7 separate regions of the Homo sapiens genome follow, and all the other regions are linked to region 6. Evidence: promoter capture Hi-C in 16 types of primary human blood cells and fetal thymus (Javierre and others, 2016). All regions are on one chromosome and are shown on one strand. Each heading gives the region's core, a stretch centred on a gene start or on the middle of the fragment in contact. The rest is flanking DNA. Distances are from core to core; before and after follow the strand shown.

Region 1 (3,562 bases), core at 602-3,101, 620 kb before region 6:
GAGAACTGCTACATGGGCTGCACCTGCAAAGCTACAGAGGTGGAGCTGTCCAAGGCCTTGGGATCCCACCCCTTGGACCAGTGTGCCCTGGATGCAGGACACAAATTCAAGGAATATTTTGGAGCTTTAAGATTGAATGACCACCTCACTGGATTCCAGATTTGCATGGGGCCTATACCCCTTTCTTTTGACCAGGTTCTCCCTTTTGGAATGGAATTGTTTACTCAGTGCCTATGCCACCATTGTATCTTGGGAGTAAATAACTTATTTTGATTTTACAGGCTCATAGGTGGAAGGAGGTGAGTCTCAGTTGGAACTTTTGGACTTTGGCTTGATGCTGGAATGAGTTAGGACTTCAGGGGACTATTGAGAAGGGATGATTATACTTTGCAATGAGATTTGTGGGGTCAGGGACAAAATGATGTGGTTTGAATATATGTCCCCTCCAAATCTTATGTTGAAATGTGAATCCCAGTGTTGTAGGTGGGGCCTGGTGTGAGATAATTGGATCATGGGGGTGGACCTCTCACGAATGGCTTAGCATCATCCCCTTGGTGATCAGTGAGTTCTCACTCTCTTAGTTCATGGGAGAGCTGGTTGTTTAAAAGTATGTGGCCCTTCCCCTCTCTCTCTCTTGCTCTCACTCTCATCATGTGATGAATCTGCTTCTGCTTTACCTCCAGCCATGAGTAAAAGTTTCTGAGGCCTCCCTAGAAGCCAAGCAGATGCCAGGAGCATGCTTGCCCAGCCTGCAGAACTGTGAACCAATTAAACCTCTTTTTTTAAATGAATTACCCAGTCTCAGGTGTTTCTTTGGTTTTGTTTTTGAGACAGGATCTCACTCTGTTGCCTGGGCTAGAGTGCAGTGGCATGGTCATAGCTCACTGCAGCCTTAGAAGACCTGGGCTCAATTGATCTTTCCACCTCAGCCTCCCAAGTAGCTGAGACTACAGGCATGCACTACTGCACCCAGCTAGTTTTTTATTTTTTTGTAGAGACAGGGCCTTGCTATGTTCCCCAGGATGCTCTTGAACTCTTAACCTCAAGTGATCCTCCTACCTCAGCCTCCCAAAATGCTGGGATTACAGTTGTGAGCCACTGCACCTGGCTTGATATTTCTTTATAGTGACACAAAAAAACAGACTAACACAGGGAGAGTGCTGTGCTAATATTTTAATTTGCATATACATCTACTATAATAACAATAATATAACAGGAACTGCACATTTACCACTCTACTGGCCCAAGACGCAATTGCCCACTGGTTCTATCCAGTCCCCGCTTAGCCCCATCTTTATTAAGGGCAAGCTTTCTCTTCAGACCATCATCTCAGCCCACCAGGGGTTATCTTTTCCCCAGTCTCTATCTCCAAGTTATGATTGGGACAGGGAAAAAGGCTGAATGGGCTCTCCATAGCCCTGACAAGTGTCACTTCAACCCAGACACTCATGGCTAACAGGCTGACCACTGGCTGTTGGTGACAGCAATAAGCAGGACAGCTGAGTGACCTACACATGATTCTCTGATACTCTCCCCAGAAAGTCCCTGTCATCATTCCCAGCCACCAGCCCAACCCAGAGGGTTTCCAACTCTTTCCTCCCTACTCCCTCCTTCAAAGGTGCCTCTCCTTCCCCAATTCAGACTGATGTAGCTTATGGAAACAGGAAAATTCATTTTGCAAGCCTGCTTTCAAACTTTGTATCTGACTCTTTCATCTAACACTTTTACAAGCAGCTTCCTTAGCTGCTGTTTCTGAAGTGCAAGCCCACAGATCAGAGTGCTGGGAATGGGAAAAACCCTCAGGACCTGCATCAGAGACATTAATGAGTCTAGTGAGGAAGAGAGACACACAGATATAATCCAACTGTGACACGAACAACAAAAAAACAAGAATTGCAACACTGTGCAGATTTTAAATTCAAGAATTCTCATACCAGGTGTGGTGGCTCATACCTGTAATCCTAATACTTTGGGAGGCTGAGGTAGGAGGATCACTTGAGCTCAGGAGTTTAAGAGCAGACTGGGCAACATAGTGAGACCTTGTCTTTATAAAAAAATTTTACAAAGCAGTCCAGCATGGTGTCTTGTGCATGTAGTCCCACCTACTTGGAAGGCTGAGGTTGGAGGATCGCTTAAGCCTGGGAGGTCAAGGCGGCAGTCAGTTGCAGTCACGCCACTACCGCCCAGTCTGGGCAATAGAGGCAGACCCTATCTCAAAAAAAAAAAAAAGAAAAGAAAAAAGAAAGAAAAATGCTTCTACCCTACCATATTAGCTGTAAGCATAGAAAAACACTTAATGTCTCTAGGAACCTGACATGTATCTCTATCTATATATCTATCTCACTATAGATATGAAATTATTATTTTAGGAGAGTATAAGATTCATAAGCTTTGAGTTAAAGTGGGAGTGACTTTGTACCCTTCCTAAACAAATGCTAAGATTAAATTCTTCTGGTACTGTGGATAACGAAGTCCATTTTAAAAGTATATTGAAGCCTTCCTGTATTTTCCTCTCTCTTCCCCTTTTCCCCCTTCCCATTCTGACCTGAAGAATTCACTCCAAATGCCCCAGATGGGGGAGAAATTTGCAAAGCCCCAGAGTGAAGTGTTGTAGCCTTCCCAGGGTGCAGAGAGCATTCCCATGAGTGTGTGAGGGTGTGAGGAGGGGAAAGAGCAGAGAATAGCTGGATGCTTTGTAGAGCCCAGGTGCAGTGAGGAAGGGGAAGGTGAAGGAGAAGGGGTGGCGGCCCAGCCCAGCCTGTGATTCTGGAGACTCAGTGGGGCCAGGAGGGTGGCGGTGCAGAGAATCAGAGCCCTAGCTGCATGAAGAGGTAGGTCTTGTGTATATGTGAGGGGCAGCCCAGCCCGTACCGTCAGAGTCTGAGCAGGGTAAGAATGATATCTATGTAGGAAAGAGGTCCAGTGTGGGGTGTCAGAGCCCAAGTGGAGTGAAGAGAACAGCCAGGCAGAGGGCCAGAGCATCAGAAGATGCACAAGTGGGATGTGAGACATCTGTGCAGGCCAGAGCAGTGGCAGATGCAGCACAGTGTCAGAACCCAGCAGGAAGAGAGGAGGGTGTCTATGCAGAGTGGAGCAGCCATGGTGAGGGGAGACTGGTGTAGACTGGGAGGCTGATCAAATATATAACACAGTAAAGAGATTAGGAATCATCTCTCTCACCATCACAGCAGGAAGCTGCAAATACAGAAACAGAGAAAACTAGAATAAACTCTGTGGTATTAGACTGGAATTGGAGATAGCAGTGTGAACTCATCGTCTTTAATATGTATAGCTGGATATTGAAGCAAATACAGATGTAAGTGTGTTTGCGTGTACATACACATATATATAGTCTCTAGCTCTGTCCACTGAGTGGGTCTGGAAGCAGTAACACCCCAGTAGCAATGAGAACATCTAGCGCCCAGATCTTGATTTCTAAATATCATCTGCCACTAAAACAAAACAAAAGAAACAAAATGAAACTACGGCTCCTTAGGAAACAGCCGAGTCTAGGGGAGAAAACATAACATGATCCTGGAATATCTTTTTGCACCAGAAAGCA
Region 2 (3,389 bases), core at 817-3,316, 560 kb before region 6:
CCAGAGATGAAAGCATTTACAGACAGCGTTAATTGTATTTAGTAGTTAGTTGTCCTTGTTCTTATCTTTCTTTGGAAAGGATTATACAGAAAGCATATAAGCCATAACTACTTTTCTTTAAACACCATTTTGGTGTCTTATTTCTCTGCTCAAGAATCTTCTGTAGCTCCCCAGTGCCTTCACCATCAAATCGGAGCTTCCCTGTTTGTTAGGATTCTCCATTTTTTTTTCCTAATGCAGACCTCCCCATCAGCTATCTCAACATCAACACATGTATTAATTGCCTTAAAAGACGAAGACCCTGCACTATGAATTTACATGTTGTTGTTTGAGGGAGTTTCATAGCCTAAGAAAGCAAAAAAGTGTTGGAAGAGTGGGACTGCCTCAGGAGTTCAGAGAAGAGAGTACCATGAGGTGCCCTACACCCCATCCATCCCTGACTCTGTGCCTTTAGACAAGGCTTGAGGATTGTGGCTGATAAAGGAAGTGACATCAATGAAATAAGGAAGAATACCTAATCATGAAAATGGAGAGTCTGTAAAGCATCATTGTAAAGAGCATGAGCCCAGAAGCCACATATCAAGTGACCTTTAGCAATTTGGGTAACCCCTGAGCCTGTTTCCCATCCATAATAAATCTGATGATCATATCTACCTTGTAGGGTTATTATGGAAAGTAAGTTAAATAAGACACTATATGCAAAGCACTCAACACGACGCCTAGCAGATAGCTGTCAATCAACAGTAGCTATTAATATTAATTATATTCATAAAGACCATTGTGAAAAAGGGTAGAGGCATGGTAATTAGATGTCTGTCTTGGGGATGTATTGCCTGGGCTTGTAGCCCCTGCTCTTCTACCTAGCAGCTGTATGGCCTTAAGCAAGTCGCATAAACCTCTCTGTTCCTCATTTTCTTTATCCATAAAATGGGAATCATAGTATCTACCCCATATGTCACTGTAAGAATATTAGTGTGGCACCAGCACTGAGTCTAAAAGGAGAAGGAAACTAAAGTCTAGAACAAGGTGAGAAAGAGAAAAGCTGTGCACCTCTCTCTAGGCTTAAATAGCTGCTGCCTGCCCTGAGTTCTCAGTGATGTCCGCGTGTAAATAGACAGACAGTGGAAGAGAATACAAATCCCAGAAGTAGATCCAAATACATATGGAACATTATGACATCCTCTCAAATCAGCAGAGAAAAATGGACTGTTCAATAAATGAGGTTGGGACCATCGGGTGGCCATCTGGAAGAGCTGGCTCTGCCTTCGTCCTCTCCAATGGGGAGGAGTGAACCTAGCAGAGAGGAACAGGAATGCGCCAGAGTCGTTTGCTCTCCATGCTTTGTCATCTTTGAAGTAGCACCTATTCAAAAGTATTACCCACTCTAAAAAGTCAAAGAAAAAAAGATAGATAAATAGTTCTCCAGAAGTGATGAAAGATGGATTGTCTGGGAGAAGGGCCAGGAATCCCAGGAGGAGGTTGGCTTCTCTAGCGAGTACATGCACCCTTCTTCCAAGAGGCTACAAAACACATGCACAGCTAGGGACAACAGTGCAGAAGCTGGAAAAGGGCTCTAGGGGACCATGCGGTCCCTCTTGCCTATCATTGTACTTTGGGCCAAAACTTGAATGCAAATTCAAGCATTACTTGGGAAGGGAATACGGTGTATGTGCCTACTTTTCTAGATCGGCAGAGATGGGAGCTACTGAAAGAGAAGGACCCTGGTCAGGGAGGTTTGAGGAGGTACTGGACACAGGATCTGGGGATGCCACTAAAGCTGTCAGAGCCATATGAAGCCAGAACAGTGGCAGGGCAGAGGGAGCTGATGGGATCTCAGAAAGGAGCCCTAAGCATTCCTTGAGAGAGGGCAGGGAAAGGAGATGTGTTTCCCCAAGTTCATTCTTTTGCTAGGACTCGTATTTAAGGAGCCTGGTCTTCCAAAGATGCTGGAGGCTGCATGTCATGGCCTCAGAAAAAGCTCTCAGCTCCCCTTGTCCTCAGCAGTGATTTAAGTTCAATTGTACAACTAGCATCAGTTGACAACACTCTCCAGATCTGAAAGACAAGCCTGGCCCTTCACTCCCACTGAGTCTACCCAGGGGAATTATCCATCCTATGGCCCCCTTCCTAAGTGTGCTTCTGACAAGCCTTCTCCCAATTGTCCCAGCCTTTGATTTGTATTTATATCTCCTACTCACACCACATCCTAAGAGAATTCAACTCAAGTGTAACCCTGAATGGGTTACAGGTTATAAGCAAAAAAAAAAAAAGTGCAAAATCAATGCAGCCCATAAACTCTCATTCCCTTGCCTCTTCGCACAGCTCTAGAGATAAGAGTCTAACTCAATTGATGCAGAATTCACTGCTGAGGAATTTTTTTTATTAACTTTTCTCCTGATTATAAAAGGAGAACTCTATTTCTTGCCCTTCTAGGTCTTACCCTGTAGATTAGACACAATGACAGCATCCTCACAGAAAAATCTGGAAATACGGAATAAAATATAAGAAAAAGAATTCAGACACCAATTATCCTACCACCCAAGATAACAATATTATTGTATTGGAGTGTGAATTTCTAGTCCTTTCAATAAAGCATGGTTGATACAATTTAAATGATATTATATATTGAGTATACTGTTAATATGATAATATCAATATCAAATTATATTTTGTATCACTTGCCAATGGACTTAAATTCTGTATAATTTTTGGTGGTTACATATTATTCCATCCTAAGGATATGCTGATATGCTGAAATTTATTTGACCAATCCTATAACAGATGCTTTTCAAGGTCAATTTTTTTCTAATATAAATAATGGTATAATAATAACATTTTGCCTGAAGCCTGACTCACCTATTAGATCACTACCCTAGGATTAATTCTCAAAATTTAAGAATGCAAGGCCAAAGAGTAGGAGCATTTTTAAGGTGATGTGTAATATCACACTGACCTCAAGAAAAGTTTCACCCATTAAACTCCCCCAACCCACTATAGAACTTTTGCTCTCTATATCAAACTTTGAACCACTTCCCAGATGAGCCATAGCATTCAAGGCTGGAAGAAAGGTGGTATCCTATGAGAGTGTCCCCACAAGATTAATCCATCTGTCCGGAGAAGCAAATCCGAAATCCAGCCAGGGCCAAGGAATACTGTAGGCATGTGCTTTTTGAGCAACACTTCCATTAACCCTGTTTCTGGTACCACCTGTCTAGGAATCCACGTTAGGGGCTTCCCCCTCCCCCGACACTAAATACTTGGTATATTTTCCAACATCAATTCTGTTTCTCTGACACCAACTGGGTATCCAACAATCCAATTCAATTATAACACTATCAGAATTAGCATAGACCCCACAGGTTAAGGGCTCAGTCCCACAAGACTGCCCC
Region 3 (3,593 bases), core at 1-2,500, 680 kb after region 6:
CTTTCTTATGTAATACACACAAATAAGGAAAATACAAAGAAAATAAAAACTACCGACTGATTACAATACCAAGAGAAAACAACCATTGACAGTGGAGCATTTTCATTTTAAGACGCAGAATACACGTACTAAGGGCACTAATATTAAATATGTAAAATACTGCCTTTTAACCTGCTTTTCTCACTTAATATTTCTAAACATTGTTAGTGACTTCCCACACATTTTTTGGTTTTAGTTGTTTTGGTTTATTTTTTTTCCAATTCTTATTATAAGAATACAGAGAAGTATGTACAAAACATGGACCCTACCTTTAGGCTCCTTATTCAACAGTAAAGATAAAAGAAGTATAACCCTATAAATATGTACAATTCTTTTACATCAATAAAAATTTTAAGAAGTATAATCTCATAATGTGAGTCTGACTGATAAATGCTCATGGATTTCAAAATTTTAAAAAAAATACAGGTGATGCAGAAATTTTCCTGAAATCCTACTTCCCCAAAACCACATTTTCGTGTTTATCCTCTCAAACTACTTGTATGTCCATTTAAACACAAAAATGTAGATGCATATGTAATTTCTTAACAAAAATTAATAACTTACATACTGTTTTATTATTTGCTTTATTTAATGACTTGTGGTGGACTTTTTTTTGGCTTAGAGAGTTTTGTCTGATTTGAAACTTTTTTTAAATTAAGAAATATACATACTAGAGTATTAGAAATAGTTTAAAGAAAACACCAGCTTAGGAAACAGAATGTTACCAGGCTTTTCCAAGTCCTCCTGTGTACCCTCCATCCCCAGAATTAACTACAAATCATTCTTTTGCTTTTCTTTATGGTTTTTTTCACATATGTAGCCTTAAATAATATATTGTTTACTTTTGTCTAGTTTTAACCTTTATATTAATGGAGTGTTTCTGTTTATAGCCCTCAGTGACTTGCTTTTTTTCATTCAGTATTTTGATATTCGTATACCATTCCAATATGCTATAGTTTACTCATTTTCACTGCTGTATTAAAATGTTCCTACACTAATAGTAGTGGATAGCTCCTCAGTTTTTGGCTATTACAAATGATGCTCCTATTACATTATTGCACATATTTCCTGGTGCAAATGGGACATGTACAGCAATTACTTTAGGATATATACCTAACAATTGAACTAGGAAATGTACAACATAATTATCCTACAAAGTGTTTCAACAGATTTACATTCTTATCTAGAGTAATGAGTTCCCTCTGTTGTACATCCTTGCTAATACCCACCTTTCTGAATTTTGTTTTCCCCTGATTCACAGAAAAACAAATTTGCAGGAATAACGTGAAATATGTGATTCCCCTTTACCTGGATTCACGTATGACCTGTCTCCCTCCTCTGTTCTGGATCCCTTGCATCTTTCTCTGCTTTCATGTGTGTACATACTATAGACATAAACTTGTTTCGAATAATTTCAGAATAAGTCGCACACTCATGTCCCTTATCCCAAAATATCTGTATTTCCTAAAATTAAAAATATTTTATTATATAATCAAAATGCAAATGATTCTGATTATATACAATAAATTTAACACTGATAAAAATAATTGTAATCTAACCTACTATCTTTATTGCAGTTTTGTCAACTGATCCCATATGTGTCTTTTTTTTTTTTTTTTTTTTTTTTTTGAGACAGGGTCTTTCTCTGTTGGCCCAGACTGGAGTGCAGTGGTGCGATCTTGGCTCCCCACAACCTCCGCCTCCCAGGCTCAAGCGATTCTCCTGCCTCAGCCTCCTGAGTAGCTAAGACTACAGGCACATGGCCACTACTGCCCGGCCAATTTTTGTATTTTTAGTAAAGACGGAGTTTCACTATGTTGGCCAGGCTGGTCTCGAACTCCTGACCTCAAATTATCCACCTACCTCAACCTCCCAAAGTGCTGAGATTACAGGCATGAGCCACCGCGCCCGGCCGCAAAATGTGTCTTTTATGACCCTTTCCCTCAACCACTACAAGTCTTGGTAAGGATCATCCATTGCCTTTAGTTATCATAGCTCTTTAATCTCAACTAATCTGCAACAGCTTTTCACTCTGTCTTTTATAACATTGGCATTTTGAGTATAGTTTCCTCTTCCTCCCTACTTTTTGGCTAACTAAAATTCCATACTGTATTCAGATTTCCTTAGTTTCTAAAAATTGAGTTATAACTCACATACCATAAAATTCACCACTTTAAAATGGATAACTTCAGTGGTTTTTAGCATATTTGCAAGGTTATGTTACCATCACCATTATCTAATTCCAGAATATTTTCTTTCATCTCCCCCAAAAGAAACCCAGTACCCCAAAGCAGCCACTCCTGATTTCCCCCATTCCTAATCTCCACTGCTGCCAACTACTAATCTAACTTACTGTCTCTATGGACTTGCCTATTCTGGTCCTTTCATATAAATGGAACGACGCAACATGCAGCCCATTGTTTTCTGGCTGCTTTCACTGAGCATAATATTTTCAAGATTCACCCATGTTGTAACACATATCAGTGCTTCATTCCTTTTTATGGCTGAATAATACTCCATTGCATGGACAGACCATATTTGTCTTATCTGTTCATCACTGACAGACATTTGGGTTTGTTCCATTTTTTGGCTGTCATGAATAATGCTGTCAGCATGTATGTATGTACGCGGTTTCCTTAGTTTTTATCTAATGTCATTTTCCTGTTCCAGGATCCCCTTCAAGATACCACATTATGTTTAGCTGTCATGTTTCTAGGCTCCCTTGGCTGTGACATTTCTCAGGTTTTCATTGTTTTTACTGACCTTGACAGTTTTGAGTTCTGGTCAAGTATTTCATAAAAACTCCCTCAATTATGGTTTATCTGATGTTTTCCTCATGATTAAGCTGGGTTATGTATTTCTGGGAGGAAGACCAGAGAGGTAAAGTGCCACTGTCATCACATCATGTCAGGAGTACATACCGCCAGTATGGCTTAGCCTGTGGATGTTAACCTTCACCACCTGGCTGAGACAGTGTCAGTCGGGCTGCTGCACTGTAACATCACTCCTTTCCCCTCTCTGTGCACTGTACTCTCTGGGAGGAACACACTATGTGCAGCACACACTTACAGAGTGGGAATTAGCTTCACCTCCTTGAGGGTGGAGTATCTATATACATTTAGAATTCTGCACAGGGGATTTGTCCCTTCTATCCCATTAATTTATATATCCAATCAATTATTTATACCAGTATGAACTCAAGGATATTTATTTTGTACTCTGAGTTACAATCCAATATTATTTTATTTTGGTGTTCAAATTGTTCCAGTCTTGGCCAGTTGGGAACTCTTTCAGTTGGCTCCTGTGTCTTTAATATGCCCCCAAACTTCTGCAAATTTTTCTTTTTTCAAAATCTTTTTAAAATAGAATGTTCCTCATTTTGGGTTCATCTAATGTTCCCTCACAATTAGACTAAGATTTTACATTCCTGAACCAAATGGCATGTTAAGTGGTGTTGGGTCCATCAGAGTATCATAGCCCAATGTGTACGATCTCCATTTACTCCTCATTGGTGATGTTAATTTGGAGATACTGTCCTATTTCTCCACTTTCCT
Region 4 (3,432 bases), core at 301-2,800, 600 kb before region 6:
CCCTCAACACTGGGTTCTTGGAGGAACAAGTACTACCACTCTTCCTAATGTGTCTCAGGGCCTATCCCTGAGCCCAGCACACAGTTCATGCCCAGTTAACACCTGTTGTAGGTTAAAAAAAGAAAGAAAGAAAGAAAAAAGAATCTGTAAACTTCAAGCTGGGTAGGGCTCAAATATCTAACAAACTGAATCCCACAGCAGAGGGTCCCACCTTCCAACTGATTTCTAATCAGAGCCCCCCAGGGCTCTTACCTATCACATGGGCACCTTCAGCTCCTCCCAGAAGGCACATAAGGTAACAGCAGAGATGCCCTTACTCAAGGTCCACAGCAACAATGAAAGGAAGTAAATAACAATGCTGCTGTGCGACCTCAAGGTGAGAGGGCTTCCAGGCAGTGATCAAGGAGGGCTTAATGGAGGAGGGGGAATTGAGCAGAAGACTTGGAAAATGGTTAGGCTGTGTGGATAGAGGAAGAACATGTCAGGATTCCTGGGAATGAACAGGATATGAGCTCACATGCAGAGAGACCACTTCAGCCCTCTACCCCAAAGGCAGCCCCTTGCTCCAGGTTTCTGGCAGAAAGCCAGCCAGAGTCCTGCAGGCAGCATTCTGTCCAAGGTGGAGGAAGTTCCCCAAACTGAACAGTAGAAACTTTGCAGGAGCTGCTGAACTGCCATAAGGCAGGGCCACTAATCTTCTGGCCAAATCACACCTTCCTTTATGATGCAGAAATCCACTCCTGGGCTTTCAGCACACCCTCCAACACGAGGCTATGCAGACAGCTGCTGCATTTGCATTTGGACAACCATAAGTATAAGAAGCCATCACACTCTATTCCCTGAAAGAACACAGTAATTCCAGTTGCCTCTTCCATAAGGCACTTCCCGTGACGTTTAAATAGACAACGACAGTTTGCAGCACTATCCTCCTTAGCAAGGATTTGCCTAACCTCTTGCATGAGCTGGTTTTCAGTTCTCATGGCCATTTGGATTACGTAAATCATTACACATACTTATTACCACCAGGACAATTGCTGGCTTTTTATTTTTTCAATTCCAGGGAGAGTGGGAACCTTCTTGGTCTGAGCTTTAGAGAGGCCTTGGGGGGGGGGGGGGTATCTTATTTCGTTCAGGCTGCTATAATAGAATACCAAAAGAATGGGTGTGCCAGGCACGGTGGCTCATGCCTGTAATCCCAGCACTTTGAGAGGCCAAGGCGAGTGGTTCACAAGCTCAGGAGATCGAGACCATCCTGGCTAGCATGGTGAAACCCCGTCTCTGCTAAAAATATAAAAAATTAGCCAGGCATGGTGGCGGGTGCCTGTACTCCCAGCTACTCAGGAGGCTGAGGCAGGAAAATGGCATGAACCCAGGAGGCAGAGCTTGCAGTGACCCGAGATTGCGCCACTGCACTCCAGTCTGGGCAAAAGAGCAAGAGTCCGTCTCAAAAAAAAAAAAAAAGAAGAATGGGTGCCTTCTGAGTAACATTTATTTCTTACTGTTCTAGAGGCTGAGAAGTCTAAGATCAAGGCACCAACAGATTCAGTGTCTGGTGAAAGACCATGTCCTGGTTTCTGGATGACTGTCTTCTCGTTGTGTCCCCATGTGGTGGACAAGGGAACACTTTTGGGTCTCTTTTATAAAAGCAGTCATTTCATTCATGAGGGCTCTGCACTTATGACCTAAACACCTCCCAAAAGCCTCGCCACTTAACACCTTCCCCTTGAGGATTAGGTTTCAACACATGTGTTTGGGGGGACACAAGCATTCCATCTTTAGCAGGGGTTCTTCATCTCTACCGCCTTGCATTCCTCTGGAAGAAGATGCTACACTGAAATTCTGTTTGCTCCAACCGAAATGCCAATATCACAGATATCTGATAGCAAAGTGAGTATGGAACAGCTTCCAATACAGAATTTTCAGGAAATGGTTGAGAACCAGTTTTGTAACTCTTGAGCTCCTTACTCAGTGGCCTTTATTTGCTTTGGAAATATAAAATTTTGAGAGTGGAGGAAGGGGAAATGTGTGAAGCAATTGCTTTGAAGAGAACTATCATGATGCTGGGAGTCCCACCCTAACCCTTCCATGCAGAGGAAGCAGGACTTGCTTTCTGGAGAAGGTGCTTCTGTTGATCCATTCAAAGACCATGAAGAGCATCCCTGTAGTGAGGGAACACTGTGCTCTGGACAGAAAACTGAGCAGGCAGCCGCTGCATTTGGCATGTGGCAGCTGGAAAGAGCACACAGCTGGGCTTGGTCTGAACCTCTAGGGTTTACTGGGACAGGATGCAGACCCTGAGGGAAAGCTAGCCTGGAGCCATTTTAAATCCTGCCCAAAGGCTGCCCAGGAGCATGTGGAGAGTGTGAGATGCTGTGTGGAGGAATGTCAGATAACAGGGATGCGGGCAGCATGGCGGGAAGGAATTGCACAGCCTGTATCAAGGTAGTGTCAGTGGGTTTCCCAGGTAGAAGGATTTCCAGCAAACTCCAGGTCAGGAGTTCAAGACCAGCCTAGCCAACATGGTGAAACCCCGTCTCTACTAAAAACACAAAAATTAGCTGGGTGTGGTGGCACACGCCGGTAGTCCCAGCTACTTGGGAGGCTGAGGCAGGAGAATCGCTTGAACCAGGGAGGCAGAGGTTGCAGTGAGCCGAGATCAAGCTACTGCACTCCAGCCTGGTGACACAGCGAGACTCTGTCTCAATCAATCAATCAATCAATCAATAAAATAACTTCTCGAAGTTGATGCAGCTACAATGGCTAGAACTGCAGCCCCCGATCTTCACATCCGTGGGAGTGAGAGTCAGCTCAAAATATCTGCCAGGCCTGGGAGTGCGACACAGATGGCAGTTCAGCAAGGAGATTTGCTGTCCCTCCTTCCCTTCCTCCCTCCCCATCTTCCTCCCCCAGTGACTGGGAACAGCAGTTATCCGGTACAGAGAGAAGAGCAGACAAAGCAAGAAGGACATGGCTCTGCTCTTACAAAGGGTCAGCCACAGTGGGGGTCCAGCCACAGGAGGCACAACATCTCATGCTAATTATATTCAGAGATTTGATTATTGTTGAGGTCTGGAGATTCTATTTTCTGAACTGTGTTTGCAATTAGTATAACTATTGGTTTGCTGCCTAAGAGTGAGCAGAAAAGCCACAGACCTGCCCAAATTTTTATCATAGGCAAGAGAAATTTACTCCCCACCCCAGCCTACCTGGTGAAATTTAAAAAGGCAATGAGAAATAACAATGAAGTTATATTTGGTTATATCCCCAAAGTCAAGTTTGTTTGACATGCAATAAAAACCATGATTCACTATTGCTATCAACACAGTTCAAAAGTAATTCTTTAAAGCTTTTTTAAAATGTCATACATCTTTTGACCCACAAATTCATGTCTAGGGCCAGGTGCAGTGGCTCATGCCTATAATCTCAGCACTT
Region 5 (3,627 bases), core at 532-3,031, 580 kb before region 6:
TCCTCAAAGGCACTGCTATTATCAGGTCTGTAAGAAACTGCTCATCCCTGAAGCCTTCATGTAACAATCTTTGCCTTTTATCCTGACCAATTCACCTCATCACAGAAAGCGCCAAATCTGCTATACTGAATCCTGTTTAATGGTGGGAGGCACTCAGTAGTGTCACTTCCCAACCATGCTCTGATTTCCTTGTAGGGAATCACCTTGGCCCTCACTGTGTGCAGTCTTCGTGGGACAATAAAACCACGTGCCTGCCCTCCCAGAGTGGAAGCTGGAGGGGCTCCACGAGGCTCCTTCTGCTCTGTCCTTCCTCTCGCCAGCTTGATACAGGGCAGTCCTGTGACCTTGGCTCAGCCAATAGAATACTCGCTTCCCTGAGATGTTGAATCTTGACAGTGACACAAGGACAGACAAGAAATTAGGATCCATTGATTCCTGTGGAGCCCTGGAGAGAACAATGAGCAGAGCCCACTATAAGATGTTCTGGAACAATCTGGTGCCCACCTGCTCCAAGTTCCTCAGCCATCACTTCCATTATTTGACCCTGTAAACCTTCTTAAAAAGTTCATTAGTCCTTTTTTTGCTAAAGGTTGCCAAACTTTCTGTTACTTGCAACTAAGAAACTCGACTGGATACAATGAACATTCAGGGATCACAGTTAGGTATCAGTAAGCACCCACTATCTGTTAAAAATTAACATTCACCTGCTACCCAAAAATACAGTGGCAAAAAAAAAAAGGAGGCATCATTTTTCGCTCACACAGAAGAAATCCAAAAGTGCATTGTCCAGGGCTGGCGTGGTGCCCTATGGTGTTAGCGATGACCCAGGCTTCTTCTCACTTTCTGCTCCACCATCTTCCACTCAGATTCCATCCATGAGGTCTCCTCACCATCCCAGGACTGTCACTGGGACTTGTTATCCTAGCCATGTTCCAGGCAGGGAGAAGGGAGACGGGGAAAGGAATGGGTCTCCTGCCAGCCAGGTGAATCCCCTTGAAGGAATTTTGCTGGAAGTGACTTCCACTCACACCTCATTGACCACCCCAACCTCAAGGAAAGCTAACAAATATGTTTGTTTTTTTAAGCAGGGCATCTTGAAAAATTCAAAGAGATTTTAAATGTTCTCACCACAAAAAGATAAGTATGTGAGACAATACATATGTTAATTAGCTTGATTTAGCCATTCCATGATGGACACGTATTTCAAAACCCATTCTACATGATAAATATATGCAATTTTTATTTTTCAATTAAAAACAAATTAAAATCTTTAAAATTAGAAATTTTAAAATTAAAAACTAAATAAAAGTTGGAAGAATTGCCATACTCAAATATACAGGGATCTTATCCTAAAAAAACAAGAGAGCATGGATACTGGGTAGGCAACTGGCAATCTCTTTCACACACTGCTTTCTGGACAACTGCTAAGGAAAGGTATTCTGAGGACCATCACCCATCTTTCATCTTAGTTTCCCCTCAACCTTTCTTGGTCGATCCTGTCTAAAAAGATTCCCTAGTCAAAACTCTGGTTTTGAGGAAAATGACAGGAAATTTTCCATTTCCGTGGACCTCACTTGGAATCATCGTTCCACTAGGTCTTTATTGAATGACTTTGAAGACGACACTTAATTCTTCCAAACCTTAGTTGCCCAAAATGTAAAGTCTGTCTCAGTCAAGGACTGACCCAGGCAACAACCTGCAGTCCCTTCGAGGTTAAAGATGATGTAAAATTAGCATTTCTAATAGTCGGAATGTTCAACTACCTTGCAATGAGCAGCAAAGTAAAAGGGATATACAGGTCATGAAGTGGACAGAGCTTTCACAATTCTTCTCAGCCTTTGACCCCAGGAAGGGTTTGACTTGTGCCTTGAGTTCAGATAGAAATGTGTCTCCTTGGATTTCCTTGGAAGTTAAAGAGAAAAAGCTACTGTGACCCAAGGGGTAAACTCACCTAAGGGAGCTGGCGGGGAGGGAGTTAATTTCATCTTTATGGCCAAAATATTTCTAAGTCCCTCTTGGAAGACAATTCTCCATGTGTCTGACTGCCTTTGCTGGAGACTATCTTTCCCAGGATGTTTGTATAGAGAGCAGCCTTGGAAGACAGAAATTGTGCCTCCCTCCAGAGCAAAGAGCAAGGTTGTTTATTGCCCACGTCATAAAGATGGCATCTGCCTCTGGAGTTAAGCCCAGCCATGCTTATTCCCTGTTAGAAAAGATTTGGATTCCCTGAACTCAGGGTACCTCTGTAACACAACTCACTGCACACACAGGCATTACCTGGCCTTCTCCACATTGCCCTGATACAAATGTTGATATTCTGGTTACTGCTAATGTGGAATATAGTAAAGTTATTTGTCTCTGACCCAGGAGTCCACCAGCATCCATTAAACTGTGGCAGGTTAACTTGTCGGCTGGCAAGTGGGGTAAAATCCCAGACCAGTCACAGTCTTAATGTCCCTTTCTTCCTTGTCACCGCCCCCTGTCCCTGACCTACCTCCCAGATGTAAACACTGGCTTAGCACCCAATCAATCCTCGGAAATATATTTTTAACACTTGCAGTTAAATTATAGAAATCTCGAAGTAATTATCTGTGTATTTTAAAGAACTCCCCAGATGCTGAAATATTTCTTCCAGGCACTTAGTCCCTTGCTATGCCCAAATCCTTGGCATGACATGGTTAAAGAATACTTGCCATATCCATGGACCTTTCTCATGGGACACCCACATAAGGCACAAATAGGAGACTGTGTGTCAACCGAAGACTCCAGAAGAGATCTAAGAGTAATGGAAGATGTGTATTTATCTCCCACTTTCATCTTCCCACATTATCTGTCCAAACAGTCGATAGTTGATTTTTTTTTTCCAAGAACTGGAAAGTTAAAGGAATGGGACTGTAAATAATAGGCTAAGCTGATGGTGGGTGAAATGGTCCAGGCTGTTTGACTTTTCAATATTAAAAACCTTCGGTCACCCCAAATACACACAAAGAATGATCAGATAGAAAATAATCTTCTCTTGTTCATACCCAACAATCTGTTGTCATCTGCCAGGGCTACAGCAGAAATCAAACACTGAACAGTAATAAAAAATGATAGCAATCGCCTCTGCTGATTCCATTCATTTCTGACCCATCTGTGCCCCAGGTACATCGGAAATTCAGCCCTCAGAGAGCACGTGTGTGTGCGTTTCAGCTGCCAAACTCTAGCCTGGCCCTTCTCTCCCTTATTAGAGGAGTCCAAAGCCAAAGCCAACTTTTTCAGATTCTATTCTAAGAGAAATAATAAAAGACTAATTCCATAAGCACATTCCCATTGGCAAACAGCTTCCCGCTTTCCCTAAGAGAAGGGCTTTGCCCTACCATCACCAAATGTCAGAGCTGAATAGAAACTTGGAAATCTCCTTGCTCAAGCCCATGTTTTCATATGAAGAAGGTGAGGCTCAGAGTGGGCTACTGGCTCATCTAGAGCACACAGCAGCATCTGTCACCCCAGCCATCACTCTTTCTACAGCTGCCCTACTGCCCTAACTTCCCACTGCCTCACGGTCTTAGCACTTGCTGTTCCCTCTGGAATGCTCTTCCCATAACTGCATGACAGTTCCTTCACCTCTTCCAAATCTTGATTTAA
Region 6 (3,681 bases), core at 504-3,003:
TATCAAAAATGTAAAAGTTTTATAATAGGCATTAGCAAGGCAGACGGATACAGGCACACATCTAACTCTATGTAGGATTTAACTTGGAAGACAATTTGCATTTCAATCAATCAAAAACCATTTTTTTTTTTGAGATGATCTCCCTGTGTTGCCCAGACTGGCCTCAAGCTCCTGGGCTTGAGCAGTCCTACAGTCTGAGCCTCCAAAAGTACTGGCAAAACAGGCGTGATTGACCATGCCCAGCCTGTATATAAGGATATTCATTTGCAGCATTGTTTGCAACACAAAAATGTAAAACCAACCGGTGTTTAATATGCAAGATGTTAATTTATGGTACATTCTTGCTGTGGAAAGCTATGCATCTGTTAGAGGTGGGTCTATATGTTCTGATACAGGCAGAACTCTAAGAGCTATTAAGTGAAGAAAAGGCTGAAAATACATATGGCATAATTCCATATATGTTAAATTGTTCTATATTTTAAATGTTATACACGTTTCCATTTGTATTTACGTAATAATAATGATCCCTGAGCTGTACTGTTGTATACATGCTACAAGAAAGACCCATTTAATCCCCACAGCCTATGATGAATTATCCACATTCTACAGGTGACAAAATAGAGGCACAAAGTTAAGTAATTTTTGTCAGGTGAGATTTAAACCCAGGCATTCTGACTCCTGTATAACCATTAAGATATGCAGAGAAAGAAAACTGGAAAGATACATATTGCTGAAGATACTTATTATAGGAAGAGGAGGGGGGAGGGTGAAGGAATTTGCAAGTTTTTCATAGATGTTTCCATATTGTTTGAATCTCTTACAAAATATGTTCAGCATATTTTTAAAGAGAAAATTTGGGGCAAAATACTTATTTTTGTATTATGTAAACAAATTTTAAAATAATGTGTGGCTGGGTGCGCTGGCTCACACCTGTAATCCCAACACTTTAGGAGGCTGAGGCAAGAGGATTGCTTGAGCCCAGGAGTTCAAGACCAGCCTGGGTGACATGGCAAAACTCCATCTCTACTAAAAATACAAAAAATTAGCCAGTCGTGGTGGCGCACACCTATGGTCCCACCTACCCAGGATGCTGAGATGGGAGGATCACTTGAGCCCAGGAAGTCAAGGCTGCAGGAAGCTGTGATCGCACCACTGCACTCCCACCTGGGCAACAGAGTGAGACCCGGTCACCAAAAAACAAAAAAAACAAAAAAAATTGGTAATCGTTTTCTTCAGACATTTTCCGGGTTCCTCTGCTTAACTTGTATAGGAAGTCTGAGGTTTTTGTGTTGGTCTTTACCTTTTTTTTTTTTTTTTTTTTTTAAGATGGAGTCTCATTCTGTTGCCCAGGCTGGAGTGCAGTGGCATGATCTTGGCTCCTGCAACCTCCGCCTCCTGGGTTCAAGTGATTCTCCTGCCTCAGCCTCCTGAGTAGCCGGGACTACAGGCGCATGCCACGATGCCTGGCTAATTTTTTGTATTTTTAGTAGAGATGGGGTTTCACCATGTTAGCTAGGACGGTCTCGATCTCCTGACCTCGTGATCCGCCCACCTCGGCCTCCCAAAGTGCTGGAATTACAGGTGTGAGCCACCACGCCCGGCCCTGATCTTTACATTTTTAAATATTGCATTAGTGAACCGTGTACTGATTTTGTGATCATAGATAACCCAGTTAAATATTAAGTCTTAATTATCACTTAGTATTTTACAACCTCAGTTGCAGTTATAAAGTAAGGGTTCCACATACCTCCTAACAGTTCCTAGAAAATGGAGCTGTCTTGGCATGTAGTCTTTATTGCCCTGCTAAGTTTTTCATGCTGGGGGTCAGACTGGGAGTCTGATAGAAATTTCATTTCCACCGCTGGTCCTCTAACCAATGACTTGCTGCACAACCTGAGTGGTCTCCTGGGAGACCAGAGTTCTAACTTTGTAGCAGGGGACAAAGACATGTATGTTTGTCACCAGCCACTGCCCACTTTCCTGCCAGAATACTTCAGCAGTCTCCATGCCAGTCAGATCACCCATTATAAGGTATTTCTGTCATGGGCACAGCTCCTCCCAGCAGGAAGCACCCAGAATCCAGACGAGAAAACAGTGCAGTGCTACCGGCGACTCCTCAAGGCCCTCAAGACTGCACGGCTTCAGCCCATGGTCATCCTGCACCACCAGACCCTCCCTGCCAGCACCCTCCGGAGAACCGAAGCCTTTGCTGACCTCTTCGCCGACTATGCCACATTCGCCTTCCACTCCTTCGGGGACCTAGTTGGGATCTGGTTCACCTTCAGTGACTTGGAGGAAGTGATCAAGGAGCTTCCCCACCAGGAATCAAGAGCGTCACAACTCCAGACCCTCAGTGATGCCCACAGAAAAGCCTATGAGATTTACCACGAAAGCTATGCTTTTCAGGGTGAGTACACATTGACCTGATGGTGACCCCTCGGCAACCTTCATCACACACCTTCCCCATCCTCCTTAGAGCAGATTCGACATTTCTCCCAACTCACCTTCAGCAGTCCTCTTATGTCTGTGCATAGGGAGAAATTAATATTGTAAATTGATTTCCCACTGGCGATAGGAAGGGGTAGCTAACATGGCAAAACACTCAGCATTTCCTTTGAAAAATATCTTTGAGGCTCACGCCTGTAATCCTAGCACTTTGGGAGGCCGAGGTGGGCGGATCACTTGAAGTCAGGAGTTCGAGACCAGCCTGGCCAATATGGCAAAACCCCGTCTCTACTAAAAATACCAAAATTAGCCAGGGATGGTAGCAGGCGCCTGTGATCCCAGCTACTCGGGAGGCTTAGGCAGGAGAATTGCTTGAACCCAGGAGGCAGATGTTGCAGTGAGCCGAAATCATGCCACTGTACTACAGCCTGTGCGACAGAGCAAGACACAATCTCAAAAAAAAAAAATATGTATACATATATATATATATATATATATATATATATATATATATACACACATGTATTTTTGAAATACCCCTTGCCCAGTCTTGAGTTGTGCAAGCACTGATTGTCTTTCTGTCTTCCTTTCCGTCTATGTCCTGCTACCCTGACTTGGAGGCAAAGTTTCGTGGTTTCCTGTCCTTCCCCCTCGGCTCCCCTATACTTACATGTCTTAGTTGGAGCTTACATTGCAGCTTGGGAGACAGACAAATACAAGATGAAACAATTATATATCACAGGATGAGGAGAGCACAACTGTAACTGTTCACATTCCTGCCTCCTAGGGGACTTGAAGTTCTGATCTGTAGGCCTAGGCTGAACCAGGACATTTGTGATTATAATCAATTCCCTAAGTGTATGTTAGGTACACCAATTTTGAGAATCAATTTTGGATTATATATGCTTTCTTGTTTTTATTATATACCATATACATACATATTTGTATATATAGTACCTGATATATATATATATATATATATATATATATATATATATATATATATATACTTCTATGTTCTACTTTTTCATTTTAACATAGTTTATGACTATATTCTCATTTTATTAAAAACTTGAGCCAGGCATGGTGGCTCATGCCTATAATCCCAGCACGTTAGGAGGCCAAGGCAGGGGGATTGCTTGAGGCCAGGAGTTGGAGACCAGCCTGGGCAACATAGAGAGCCACTATCTCTAAAATAATATAATAATTTACTCCAGTGCTGGAATAGTATTGCTT
Region 7 (3,650 bases), core at 444-2,943, 710 kb after region 6:
AGAAATCAAAGTCCTTAGACAATAAAACACAAAAGGGAACACTAAAATCAAAACAAAATAATAAAAAATGCATATAAAAATTACTAGCAATTTGAGAGTTATTCTACTGAAGTTTTTTAATCTCAGTGTACTACTACTCTTAACATACTTACGAATAAACATCATTATCCACAATGATCCCTTCGGTCAGATGAGGCCATGTAGTAGCTAAATGGAGTTCACTAAAAAACATAAAATATACCCAAAAGCTTTAATACTGACTCAGCAATTATATTTAATACTTCTAGAAAACTATACCAAGGAAATAAAAGTATGTTACAGTGGCATTATTTATAATACAACATACTGGAAACAACTTATTTAGCAAATGGTAGCACATCCTTATGAAGTTAATGTTTTGCAAACATTCATCTCATTATACATAATAGCCAAAAAGCATAAATAACCCACCAACTAATGAATGGATAAACAAAATGTGGCATATCCATACAATGGTATATTTACAGCCATAAAAAGCACAGAAGTACATTAGTTCCTCCTTATCCACAGCTTCACTTTCTGCAGCTTCAGTTACCCTAAATCAACTGCAGTCTGAAAATATTAAGTGAAAAATTCCAGAAAAAAAATCCATAAATTTAAAGTTGCATGTTGTTCTGAGTAGCATGATGAAATCTTGTGCCATCCCACCCCATTAGGTGAATCATCCCTTTGTCTAGTGTACCTACACTGTCTATGCTACCTGCCCTGTTAGTCACTTAGTAACTGTCTTGGTGATCAGAGTGATCACAAGAAGAGTGTGCATAGTACAATGAGATATATTGAGAGAGACAGATCACATTCACATAACTTTCATTAAGGTATATTGTTATAGCTGTTCTATGTTATTATTAGTTATTATTGTCAATCTCTTACTATGCCTCATTTACATTTATTTATTTATTTTGTATTACATCACCTGGAAATCTTACTGTGCCAAATTTATAAATTAAATTTTACTACTTATCTGTATGCACAGGAAAAATATTTAGTGTGTGGTACTATCCATGTTTTCAGTCATCCACTGGGGATCTTGCAACATACCAGCTGTGGATAAGGGGGTACTACTGTACTGATTCATGCTACAACATGGACAAACCTTGAAAACATGCTAATTAAAATAAGTCAGACACAAAGAAAGCCACATGTTATATGATTCCATTTATAAGAAATGTCCAGAATAGGTAAATCCAAAGAGACAGAAAGTATATCAGTGTTTGCCTAGAGCCGGAGGGCTGAGAAGACTAAGGGGAAATGATGGCTAAGAGGTGAAGAATTTCTTTTTAAGGTTATGAAAATGTTCTGGAATTAGATGATTATGATGGTTGCACAGCTCTGTAAATATTAAAATACCATTGAATTGTACACTTTTAAATAGTGAATTTTATGGCAGGTAAATTATATCTCAAGTTTGAAAAATGTTATAAATCAGGAGTTGGCAAACATTTTCTATAAAGAGCCAGAGAGTAAATATTTTAGGTTTTGTGAACCATGCACAGTCTCTATTTTATTTTTTTTCTTTCATAACCTTTAAAAATGTAAACACCATCCTGACTTCACTGGCCATACAAAAATAGGCTAATGGCCAGATTTGGCAAAGGACACAGTTTGCTGAGTTATAGATGAATATCAAATCTCAGAAAGTTTTCATGTAAAATTATAAAATAAATAAAGCAAGTGTAGGTCTTTCTTTCTTTTTTTGAGACGGAGTCTTGCTCTGTTGCCCAGGTTGGAGTGCAATGGCGTGATCTTAGCTCACTGCAACCTCTGCCTGCCGGGTTCAAGTGATTCTTGTGCCTTAACCTCTTGAGTAGCTGGGATTACAGGTGTGCGCAACCACACCCAGTTAATTTTGACATTCTTTAGTAGAGATGGGGTTTCGCCACGTTGGTCAGGCTGTTCTCGAACTCCTGACCTCAGGGGCTGCCCACCGCAGCCTCCCAGAGCGCTAGGATTACAGGCATGAGCCTGTGCCCAGCCCAGGTGTACGTCTTTCTTTATTTCCAGTACTACATTCATCCCAGCAAGCTATAGCATCATAAAGCACAGTGAAATCAATATCAATATAAATTCAAAGTAAAATATTCCCACAATTCAAATGACAGGTTGAAATTCTCACCTAATAGGATCTTCGCAGGCACCAAATGGTAACTTGCCAAACTCCAAGCCTCCAACTTCTCCTCCTACAAGGGCATCTATGTCTAAACAAAAGAAATATTTTTCCATCATTTGGGAAAAAATAAAGAAGAGTCTAATCTAGTTAAGCCCTTTGGAATATCATAGCTTTAAAAGTGTCTGCAAGAGAACACATGTAGCAAGTTAGCAAGTTAGACCAACTTACAGCATATGTAGTCTAACAATATTTGACTTCCCCAGAGAATGTTACAGTAAAAGGGCACACTTATTTCCTATTTATCCAGTATTTCATTCAGGCCAGGTATTCTAAATTTTGCCCTTCTGAAATATTCCTTAAATATTACTCAAGAGAATATTATTTCTGTACATTTTTTTGCATTTTTAAAGAATGTAATTAGTATAACCCAAAAAGAGTATCCAAGTATTTAAAAATCACCAACTACATTAATCAGTTTTGCTATCAGTAATTTCTGAATAGGAAATTAGTATATTTGTCGTCATTAATAACATTATATTTTGGTTGATAGTAAATGGAAATATATAAAGATCAGAAAAGAACCTCCTTTCCATTACGAATGGCATACTAGACTGGAAGAGAACTTAGAGGGTAAATCATTCCCTTAGTTCTATCTCTCCTGAGGAAGTAATAAGCATTTCTAAAAGGCATCAAAAGGATTTTTTTCTCTTTGAAATAATACAAATTGTGATATTTAATTATTCACACTATACTAGGATTTCCTGAAATTAAAGCCTACTGAGTTAACAAAACTTCCCATATTTGCTAAAATCACATCTGATATTTATCTACATCCTAAGTAAATGATTAAAATTAGTCATCAAATATGAATCAATTACTTGATTCAGTAAATTTTCTCAAGTCAATTCCATTTTTCCAACTAAAGAATGCTTATAATAAGAAAGATCACAATGACTAGCATTGTTACAAGTGAGTTTGTAAAAGCTTCAAAATTACAAGCACATTTTTATAATTAGTAAATTAAAAATTATTACTAAAATATAACTGTACAAAAGTTTTAGCTGAATTAAAAAGGGAGAAGCAACTCGTGGAATGAAAAGCACATCGGACTTGGAGTTTGACTAGTGTTTGTATGCAAACTTTATCACTTGGTGACCATATGACTTTAAGCCAGTTACATGGGTTAAGAAACTTACATCTCTAAGAAAGACAATACTTGTCTTGGGCTGGGCACGGTGGCTCAAACCTGTAATTCCAGCACTTTGGGAAGCTGGGGAGGGTGGATCACCTGAGGTCAGGAGTTCGAGACCAGCCTGGCCAACATGGTGAAACCCCATATCTACTAAAAAATACAAAAATTAGCCAGGCGTGGTGGTGCATACCTGTAGTCCCAGAGACTCAGGAGGCTGAGGCTGAGGCAAGAGAATCGCTTGAACCCAGGAGGCAGAGGTTGCAGTGAGCCAAGATCATGCCACTGCACTCCAGCCTGGGTGACAAAGCA

What was found. Contacts are between HindIII fragments. The CHiCAGO score rates a contact against its expected background, and 5 or more counts as called.
Region 1: a fragment that was not itself captured here is called in contact with the fragment with the promoter of LCT in region 6 in 1 of 17 cell types (neutrophils); the score reaches 7.0 in neutrophils.
Region 2: a contact is called between a fragment that was not itself captured here and the fragment with the promoter of LCT in region 6, in 13 of 17 cell types (total CD4 T cells, activated CD4 T cells, naive CD8 T cells and 10 more). The highest score is 12.0, in total CD4 T cells.
Region 3: a fragment that was not itself captured here is called in contact with the fragment with the promoter of LCT in region 6 in 1 of 17 cell types (erythroblasts); the score reaches 6.1 in erythroblasts.
Region 4: a fragment that was not itself captured here is called in contact with the fragment with the promoter of LCT in region 6 in 1 of 17 cell types (neutrophils); the score reaches 6.2 in neutrophils.
Region 5: a contact is called between a fragment that was not itself captured here and the fragment with the promoter of LCT in region 6, in 6 of 17 cell types (neutrophils, monocytes, total B cells and 3 more). The highest score is 10.8, in neutrophils.
Region 7: a contact is called between a fragment that was not itself captured here and the fragment with the promoter of LCT in region 6, in 1 of 17 cell types (M2 macrophages). The highest score is 5.0, in M2 macrophages.

The regions. Positions count from the first base shown.
Region 1 is chr2:136,455,483-136,459,044 of GRCh38, reverse strand. No RefSeq gene overlaps it. Among named protein-coding and RNA genes, the nearest start is that of THSD7B, 310 kb to the left of the region's middle. The HindIII fragment of the contact is 1,081 bases long and covers 1,311-2,391 here.
Region 2 is chr2:136,400,340-136,403,728 of GRCh38, reverse strand. No RefSeq gene overlaps it. Among named protein-coding and RNA genes, the nearest start is that of CXCR4, 280 kb to the right of the region's middle. The HindIII fragment of the contact is 4,517 bases long and covers 1-3,389 here.
Region 3 is chr2:135,158,750-135,162,342 of GRCh38, reverse strand. The region is part of intron 19 of RAB3GAP1 (RAB3 GTPase activating protein catalytic subunit 1); the gene reads right to left. Among named protein-coding and RNA genes, the nearest start is that of SNORA40B, 24 kb to the right of the region's middle. The HindIII fragment of the contact is 6,425 bases long and covers 1-3,593 here.
Region 4 is chr2:136,436,606-136,440,037 of GRCh38, reverse strand. No RefSeq gene overlaps it. Among named protein-coding and RNA genes, the nearest start is that of CXCR4, 320 kb to the right of the region's middle. The HindIII fragment of the contact is 3,596 bases long and covers 1-3,348 here.
Region 5 is chr2:136,417,165-136,420,791 of GRCh38, reverse strand. No RefSeq gene overlaps it. Among named protein-coding and RNA genes, the nearest start is that of CXCR4, 300 kb to the right of the region's middle. The HindIII fragment of the contact is 7,220 bases long and covers 1-3,627 here.
Region 6 is chr2:135,835,256-135,838,936 of GRCh38, reverse strand. It overlaps LCT (lactase), which reads left to right and starts at 1,753. Exons shown (of 17, transcript NM_002299.4): 1 at 1,753-2,407. The coding sequence starts at 1,768. The HindIII fragment of the contact is 13,164 bases long and covers 1-3,681 here.
Region 7 is chr2:135,122,752-135,126,401 of GRCh38, reverse strand. It overlaps RAB3GAP1 (RAB3 GTPase activating protein catalytic subunit 1), which reads right to left. Exons shown (of 24, transcript NM_012233.3): 9 at 2,156-2,237; 10 at 153-221. Among named protein-coding and RNA genes, the nearest start is that of SNORA40B, 12 kb to the left of the region's middle. The HindIII fragment of the contact is 2,885 bases long and covers 251-3,135 here.